2 separate regions of the Homo sapiens genome follow, and region 1 is linked to region 2. Evidence: promoter capture Hi-C in 16 types of primary human blood cells and fetal thymus (Javierre and others, 2016). All regions are on one chromosome and are shown on one strand. The core of a region is centred on a gene start or on the middle of the fragment in contact, and the rest is flanking DNA. Distances in the headings are between cores, read along the strand shown. Region 1 overlaps STN1 (STN1 subunit of CST complex). Region 2 holds the start of CFAP43 (cilia and flagella associated protein 43).

The links. The method cuts DNA at HindIII sites, captures the fragments that hold promoters and counts their contacts. A CHiCAGO score of 5 or more calls a contact.
Region 1: a contact is called between a fragment that was not itself captured here and the fragment with the promoter of CFAP43 in region 2, in 2 of 17 cell types (activated CD4 T cells and fetal thymus). The highest score is 6.1, in activated CD4 T cells.

Annotation. Positions count from the first base shown.
Region 1 is chr10:103,892,274-103,896,912 of GRCh38, reverse strand. The region is part of intron 7 of STN1 (STN1 subunit of CST complex); the gene reads left to right. Among named protein-coding and RNA genes, the nearest start is that of STN1, 24 kb to the left of the region's middle. The HindIII fragment of the contact is 510 bases long and covers 1,920-2,429 here.
Region 2 is chr10:104,230,671-104,234,774 of GRCh38, reverse strand. CFAP43 (cilia and flagella associated protein 43) reads left to right here and starts at 2,411. Exons shown (of 38, transcript NM_025145.7): 1 at 2,411-2,593; 2 at 3,932-4,104. The coding sequence starts at 2,529. RefSeq lists an enhancer at 2,290-2,584. The HindIII fragment of the contact is 2,497 bases long and covers 2,228-4,104 here.

The DNA.
Region 1 (4,639 bases), core at 925-3,424, 340 kb after region 2:
ACCTACTACTATGGACCTTAGACTATTATTATTTTTTTCTACTCAAATATTAAGCATAATAAGATTAAGTAACGAGGGGCCAGGCGCAGTGGCTCACGCCTGTAATCCCAGCATTTTGGGAGGTCAAGGTGGGCAGATCACTTGAGGCCAGGAGTTCAAGACCAGCCTAGCCAAAATGGTGAAATCTTGTCTCTACTAAAAATACAAAAATTAGACAGGGTCTCACTCTGGGTGACCCTGACCCCTGACTGTCACCCGGAGTGAGACCTTGTCCCAACAAAAAAAAAAGAAAAAGTTATCTCCATGTTTTTACCCCTAGTTTTATTTGGGTAACTTGTTTTGTTGCTTGGTGTTGACGTATTGCTTGGAATTAAGAATTATTTGAGACATTGATTTTAGGCTTTCCCTTTCATTGCAGTTCTTAGGTTTGTTGTTGTTGTAACGTGACTCATTTATTTACTTTCTTTATCCCACCAGGGAATGATCTCAGCTTAAATGTCCCTCCTTGCCCTCCCTGGCCGTCTAGCTGCTCTGATTGCCACGTGGCCCCTCACCCTTACACCCTGTTTTTGTATCTGACGTCACTGGTCTTTATTTGTTTGCTTGCCTATTCCTCCATCAGAATTTAAGTTCTGTGAGAGCAGAGGACTTGTCTGTCTTATTCTTTGCTCTCTACCCAGGGCCTAGAACGGGGCTGGCATAAAGCAGGTTCTCACTCATTATTTGCTGATTGAAGGAATGAATGATTTTTAAAAATTCAAATTGTCCCACAAAGTGTAAAGGTAAAGGTCAGTTTCTTTCCCATCCTCCCTCTCACTCCCTTTCCCCTGAGACAAGCACCAGTACTAGTGTCTGGAATATCATTCTGGAGATAGTCTGTGCTTGTGTGTACTCTAAGTCACTGTAGCCCCTTCTGTTTCACACAGATGGTAGCATGGCGTAGTATACTATGAGACACCACACTTTTCATTGACGTATGTCTCACAGATTCTTTCCTAGCCGTACATATAGGTTGGCCCCTACAGTCTTTGTCACATGTACCATCATGTATATGACCAGTCTGTCCATTCCTGGACTGTTTAGATGTTTTCTGATCTCTTGCCATCACCAACAAGGCTGCTGTGAACACCCTTGCTAGGTAACATAAGTTCTTGATTTTGGTGGAACAGATACTGAGTCACATCCTGACTTCCTGGGCATGACCACTGCTTCTCAGTTTTGTTTGTGCTCCTAATTATCTCTTCTGGGCAACAGCCTGATGTGCCCAGTGACCCATGGTTTCATACGAGGAGATGAGGGATATCGTTTCAGAAAACACCAAAGTGGAAAGGGTCACGACTGGCTGCTTTGTTCTTTGCCAAGGTTGCTTCTAAACAGTTGCAGCGCTCCAGCTGTCGGCTGACAGCAAGATTGACCTTCTTCCCACTTAATCATTTAGAGGCGGCTCAAAGCCAAATTGACCTCCTAGGACTTCTGATGATTCTATCAGCATGTTTGGATAGAAACTTTAAAGCTTAGCGAAGACCATATTTTTCACATGAAGCCAGCTCTTCCGTGATAGCTATAATTAAGTAGAGAGAGAGACTTAAGGACTCTTTGAGGACTAAAAGACTCCTCCATTCAAAATGATCTGTGGGGAACCTTTGGCATATCTTTTTGAAAATGCTTACAGCAGAAACTTGTGTCTGCCTGGTGCTATATGTTTAAAAAGAATCGAATATGGCACTATATTTGTTTTGTCTTTGGAAACTCTTTTTTCTATCAATTATGAATTAGTCCCTCACATTGCTCTGGTTGGGGAGGTCAGTGTGATTAAACTGAGTTCTGTTTAATAGATTCCTGGGAGACTAAAGGTGCTTTACAATGAGACTGAAACCCTAGATCCTTTGGCACTTTCTGTTGTCATACAGATGAAAGCTTAACAGAAAAAATCATTGTGATGGTGTTATAGTTTAGAGGCAGAGAGAGAGCAGGCTTGAATGTTTCCTCCTTTTTTTCATAGTGGTCCTTCTTAGCAAATCCAGAAACATGATAAGCAGGGCCTGCAAAACCATTGTTTCTTTGACAGCTGGATGAATGTTGAGTTTGTTTGGGAATGAAGACTATATATATTTCAGGGATCCACCCAGTTCCTGACCTGAGATGAGGCGAGGCTTGGTAAAGCTCAGCACGTTTAGCTAGTGACTGTTTTTTTTTGTTTGTTTGGTTTTTTTTTTTTTTTGCCTGTGAGCAATTTCGGTTTCCTAAATCTGATGAGTCTGTCATTGCTTTTTTGAAAAAGACAAGAAAGACACAGATCCCAGTCCAGGAAAAGCTGCTGGCTGGAAGAGACGATTAGTGGCTTTACCCTTGAGACTATGGTCTTTATAACTAGGCCAGGGAAATATGTCCCAGGGTCAGCTGAGGCAAATGTTTTTGGAAAGGAAGCTTCAAGTATTGTTTATATTTACAGAGAGCCATTTCTGTTGAGTCCTTGCTCACAGCTGAAACTGTGTTTTTAATCTCCTAGGCCTAGCATTGTCTCTTCCTGCTGCTTGATCTGACTGAAATCTGGGAGGGGGAACTAGGCTTTTTATATGGTTTGGGGATAACCAAGAGTCATTTTTAAAGACAGGAATAATCATGTAATACTCATCTCTAGTTAGTTTCCAATTTATTTCTATCTTGCTAAGAGATGTAATAAACCTAACCTTTAGGATCCTTATGTTAAATTGACTAAAGAAGATAGATCTCCTTAGAATTATAAAGATTAAGTAGTTATGAAGGTTTGCAAAGGAGTCTATGTTGCACTGATGGTGCATCCCCTAAGAGCACTCATGTATGAAATTAAAAACAGTTTTGCCCTAAGCCTCGTGAATAAAAAGATGTGTGGCTGAGGATTGCTAGGTGTGGTGTTTATTCTAAACACACCCAGAGAGGTTTTCTGCCTGTGGGAGTTGTCAAATATTTCTCAGCCTTATTCTCCCTTCTGAATGGAAGCTGTCATAACCTGGAATGTTTGTCGGTTTGGGGGCTCTAATGACAAGGTTCTCCAGCTTGTTCTTTTAAGGAAAAACTTAGACTGATAATTCAATTAGTGTGTTAGGCTGTTATTGTTAGCCCAGGAGAACACATTTGTGAAACATCACCAGGATCTATTAGAGTAACAGAAAGCCTGTTTGGGAGGTCTCTTCTAGAAAGAGAAGGTTACTTTGGGACGGACTTGTGAACACTTGAGACCCTGTGGAGGCTCTTTCCTCTCCCCTTGAGGAAATGTCATTAGCAAATCTCAGCCACTCTTTTTCAGCACCTCTGGGTGCTGCCCCACATAGGCTTTGTAAGTACCTTTCAATAGAGGTAGGACTTGGCCTTCAAATGCTTTTCTGGAAGCTTTGCCACATTTGTTTGGAACTCTGATCTTTTCAATATCTTGACAAATTTCTGTCACATTGAAAATGGATCTGTAGGCTGGGCACGGTGGCTCACACCTGTAATCCCAGCACTTTGAGAGGCCGAGGCGGGTGGATCACGAGGTCGGGAGATCGAGACCATCCTGGCTAACATGGTGAAACCCTGTCTCTACTAAAAATACAAAAAATTAGCTGGGCATGGTGGCAGGCGCCTGTAGTCCCAGCTACTCGGGAGGCTGAGGCAGGAGAATGGCATGAATCCAGGAGGTGGAGCTTGCAGTGAGCTGAGATCGCGCCACTGCACTCCAGCCTGGGCGACAGAGACTCTGTCTCAAAAAAAAAAAGGATCTGTACTTTGAAGAGCAATTGTTGTTCGCCCTTTTCTTTGTTTTAGGAAGGAGTGGAAAATCCCCAATGGAATAATAAGAAGAATACACACACTCTAATGTGTATTTGTTTCCATTCATCTCACAGATACTTTATCAGTCACCTAACGTGTGCTAGGGAGGAGGTGGCCAAGATGAAACAAAGTCCCTGACTCAAGAAGCATCCCATCTGGTCAAGCATGGGGGGACATAGCTGATAGCCTAGCTTCCTCGGGGATAAGAAGCAGGATGACCTGGATGACCCTCCCCAGGCAAACGTGTCTCCAGAGAAGTGAAGAGACACTGAAAGTGAGGGGGAGAGCTGACAGCAGCAGAGGTCCCTTCTAGGTGGGGACTGTGCTTCACCAGGACTGCTGTCTACCTTCAGCCTTGTGGACTCCCCTTGGTGGATCTCTGCACAGCCTCTGTTGTCCTCCATTTAAAATAATGAGGCTATTTAATACTTCATGCTGGAATCCCCAAATTATTCCAACATACAAAAAATCTTTGAAGTCCCTAGGAAGAGATTGTATACAGCCTCAATTTTAATGGAAAAGGGGGCTAATATATATATACAGTGTTTTGGTTTTGTATAAAAAATAAGTCAAAGATTGTCCAACAGTGAGGGTAGCTTTTTTTATTCTGCACTATGGAGTGTTGAGTTCATTAAAAAAAAAAAAATCACAACTAAGGTAGGGAACAGTTATGAAAGGTGACCTGCCGGGGCACACTTCTCAGTCCTCCTTAAATACCATCCTGCTAGGCCGGTACATACCAGGATCTTTTTGACTCAGCAGTTAAAAGGCCTGTTGGACAAATTCATGAACCAGTTGGTCTAGGAGTTGTTCTCAGGTGCCGTAAGGTGAGACTTATTTCTTTTCTTTT
Region 2 (4,104 bases), core at 1,162-3,661:
AACTTTGTAACATATACCAATAACACATTTATGCAAATATAGTCCAAAAAAAGCAAAAAACCATTTCATATTTGGCAATGCTTCCTATATGATTTTTATAGCAAATAAGCCAAATTTTACCTTTACATTAATGTGCTATTAATGTTAAACCCAATTTTTAATAAAACCTTATAGACATATTTACCCAATTTTAATGTTAACCATAAGGTAAGAGTCTTATAAACCTCGTATAACCCTTTACAATTGTGTGTGTGTGTGTGTGTGTGTGAAAGAGCAGATCAACTCTAAGAAAAACCTGTTGTGCTTTTATTCCAATGTTTAATTTATCGAAAAACTGAATAATACCCCTGTAACTTTAGCCAGTATGTTCACATACAGAATCTCTTACAATTAATTTTTATAAACCTTCCACAACTTATTTAAACCTTTAGTTTTTTTTTTTACTTAAAGCAATCCTTTAACACTTAAATGTAGGCAGAGAAAAATCCACATTCCCATTACTTCTTATAATCTTTCACCAAAAACACATTTTACTTTCTTTACACACCTTGCATGTAAAACTGTTTCTTTAGTAGTTTTAATTACATGTTATAATGTTAACTTTTTGCAACTTTTATTTTTGGTGAAAACCTTGGTAAGTAAGAGATTTTAATTGTGTACTAGGTGTGGAGCCTAGCCTAGGACACAACAGGCAGAAGTGCAGATAACAGCTGACTCTCTAGCATAGCTAGAGGGCATAGCTAACTCCACATGTCCACAGGGCTCACCCTTACTTAAGCAGGCAAGTTGTACAGTAAGAGTCATAGGGCATTGTATGAAGCATTTAGGAGGCCTAACAATCCGTGAATTGTACAACATTTCTTGCATAAAATCACTTTCATAAATCCTTTCACAACTTACACAGACCATCTGAGACCATGTGGATATCTAGCCCAACTCCCTGGATCCCACCAGTCTCTAAGTTCCAAGAAGGAAGAAACTTTATTTGTTTTTCTATTTTTTCCAAGTGACTAGCACATGCATGAATGCATGCGGGATGCTCTGTAAATATTTGTGAAAGAAATGGAGAGAAGAAAGCAAGACAGGAAGGAAAGACCTAAAGAAAGGAAGGGAAGGGTAGAGAAGGGAAGACGACTGAAGGGAAAGGAAGAAGGGTAAGGGAGGGAGTCTAAGGGAAGGTATGGGAGAGAAGAAGGAATGACAAGCTGCCGACCATTCAATCAGGTTACTTCCAGAGCTGTCTGCTTCCCTGAGGAAGCAAGAGGGTACATTTCAAAGTGTTATATGGTACTTAAGGGCTTGGAGCTCTAAATTAGCTAGACCTGCGTTTAAGTCCCACTCAGGGCTGGGCAAGGTGGCTCACGCCTGTAATCGCAGCACTCTGGGAGGCCAAGGCGGGCGAATCACTTGAGGTCAAGAATTTGAAACCAGCCTGGTCATCATGGTGAAAACCCGTCTCTACTAAAAATACAAAAAATTAGCTGGGCATGGTAGCACGTGCCTGTAATCTCAGCTACTTGGGAGGCTGAGGCAGGAGAATCGCTTGAACCCAGGAGATGGAGGTTGCAGTGAGCCAAGATCAAGCCACTGCCCTCCAGCCTGGGCAACGGAGTGAGACCCTATCTCAAAAATAAATAAATAAATAATATAAATAAATAAAGTCCCACTCAACTTTGTAGCCATGGACAAATTATGTGCTTCTCTTTTCCTCACGTTACTTATCTGTAAAATGGGGCTGATGGGAGATGTGAAGACGTTGCAACAATGTTTGGCACAGTCAGCACTCTAAATGAAAGTCTGTTTAGAAATTTATTGATTTTTAAAAATAATTATTTATTTAGAGACAGGTCTCGCTCTGTCGCCCAGGCTGGAGTGCTGTGGCGTCATCCCAGCTCACCGCAGCCTTGAACTCCTGGGCTCAAGCGATCCTCCCACTTCAGTCTCCCAAGTAGCTGGGACTACAGGCGTGCACCACCATGCCCGGCTGCTTTTTAAATTTTTTTGTAGAGATGCGGCACGGGCGCGGCAGGTTTCGCTATGTCTTCCAGGCTGGTCTTCAACTCCTAGCCTCAAGCGATCCTCCCGCTCTGACCTTCGAAAGCGCGGAGATTGTAGGCATGAGTCTTACTTGCAATTATTGGCCCGGACCTGGGGAAATTTGTTAAAATGCAGATTCTGATTGAGTAGATCTGGTGTGGGAGCCAAGTTTCTGCATTTATAACAAGCTTCCCAGGTAGCACCAATGTTGCTGGTAAACAGACCACACTTTGAACAGCAAGGGGCCCGCCCCTCGCTTGGCTTGCCGCTCACCCATTGGCCGAGAGCGGCAGACCTTCCACCAATCTGCTCGGCTCAGAAGGGAGCGGGCCAAAGCGCAGAGCCAATGGGCGCGGGGCTTACGGTCTCCGGGATACGGGTGTACACAGCAGCGGCGTCGCGGCCCGCAGCCCCGCGGCGGCGGAAAGGTAACCGACCCGCCCTGGGGTGCTGCGTGCGCTGCCTGCTCCCGCCTGAGGAAAACACTGCCCATGGCGCAAGGCCGGGAGCGCGACGAAGGCCCCCACTCCGCCGGCGGCGCGTCCTTGTCCGTGAGGTGCGGTGTTCACGGCCCCGCGACCGATCTGGGTCTCGCGGAACCTCCTGCCCCAAGTCCCCTCCTCCCTCCTCTCCCTCCGGTTCCTTAGGGCGGCTTTCCCCGCAGCTTCGACCTCTTCCCCTCTGCCCCCAGTGCCTTCCCTCAGCCTCCCTCCCCGTGTGACCTCCCCTGTCCGCTCCCCATCCCCTTGTTCCTTGACCCCGTCCCCAGTTGTCTTTCCCACTCCTTATTCTGCGACCCTGACCCTCCGTCTCTTACCCAGCAACGTCCCCTGCACCCTTCATCTCTTCCTTCTAGCTCAGGATTCCCGCTAGTGATCCGGGTCTTCTGATCACATCCCCCTCCCCCTCCACCTGGCGACAGCCCGGATCCCGTCCTTGCTACCTTTGGTGATTTTCCCCAAAGTTAGGTCCCTGAATCCTTTCCTTCTAACTCCTATCCACTAGCTTTGGATTTATTTGCATTTATAGTAGCCTTTGAAAAGCATCAAGCACTGCGCAGATATAGGTGGCATTTTTTCCCCTACATTCTAGAGTGTTCCTCCCAGCCCCCACCTCCACTCTATACAGCATCCCCTGCTAGTCCTGGACACTCTAATGTCTCGAGGTTTCTCACCAAACCAGTGTCCTTCACTTGCCTTTTCCACCATCTTCAAGCATACCTTTAATATTTAAATAAAAATAGAATCTCCTTCATCTCCTCTCCTTTCTAGCATACACCTAGCACGCACTCCTTACTTGAGAGTATGTTCTTTTTGTGTGCTAGCCTTTCATTCACGTCGACTTCATTCCTTTTATTTTCTACGTTTATCTGTATTTTTAAATCTAAAATATGGCCACATACTCTTCATCTGTGTAAATAAGCAATTTTCCTACTCTGCTAACAACCACAAAGCAGGCTGTCCTATGCAAAGTTGTTTTTTAAAGTTTATTTAAAAAAATCAAACTAATTATAAAAGAATGGCCCAGGATGCCACTGTGTTGAGATCAAGCTCTTTTCTCTGTTATTTTCACTTTTTGTCTTCCAAGTATAGAAGACCCCAGAAGTCCTTCTGAGACTTTCTCAGGTTTGGTCAGAGAGTTTCCTTTGCTGAAAAAGTTATCTGAAGAAGGCCTGGGAGACCTACGGAACTTTAGGTCTACATTTAAATTTCTATAATTCATTGACTCAAATGGATCTCACAGCCAGCATGTGTGTTCTTTTATCTTAGAAATTGGGGGCAGAAAGGACATGAAAATAGAAATGTTTCAAAGATTTTGATGACCCTTTGCTTTGTTAAAAAAAAAAAAGTATTTGAAATGTATTATATTGATGTTGACATATCTTTTCCCAAAGATGGGTGCAAGGATTCCCTAAGCAGAATGTTCATTTTGTCAACGACAACACCATTTGCTACCCTTGTGGGAATTATGTAATATTTATTAATATTGAAACCAAGAAAAAGACTGTACTGCAGTGTAGTAATGGAATTGTGGGCGTCATGGCAACTAACATCCCCTGTGAAGTTG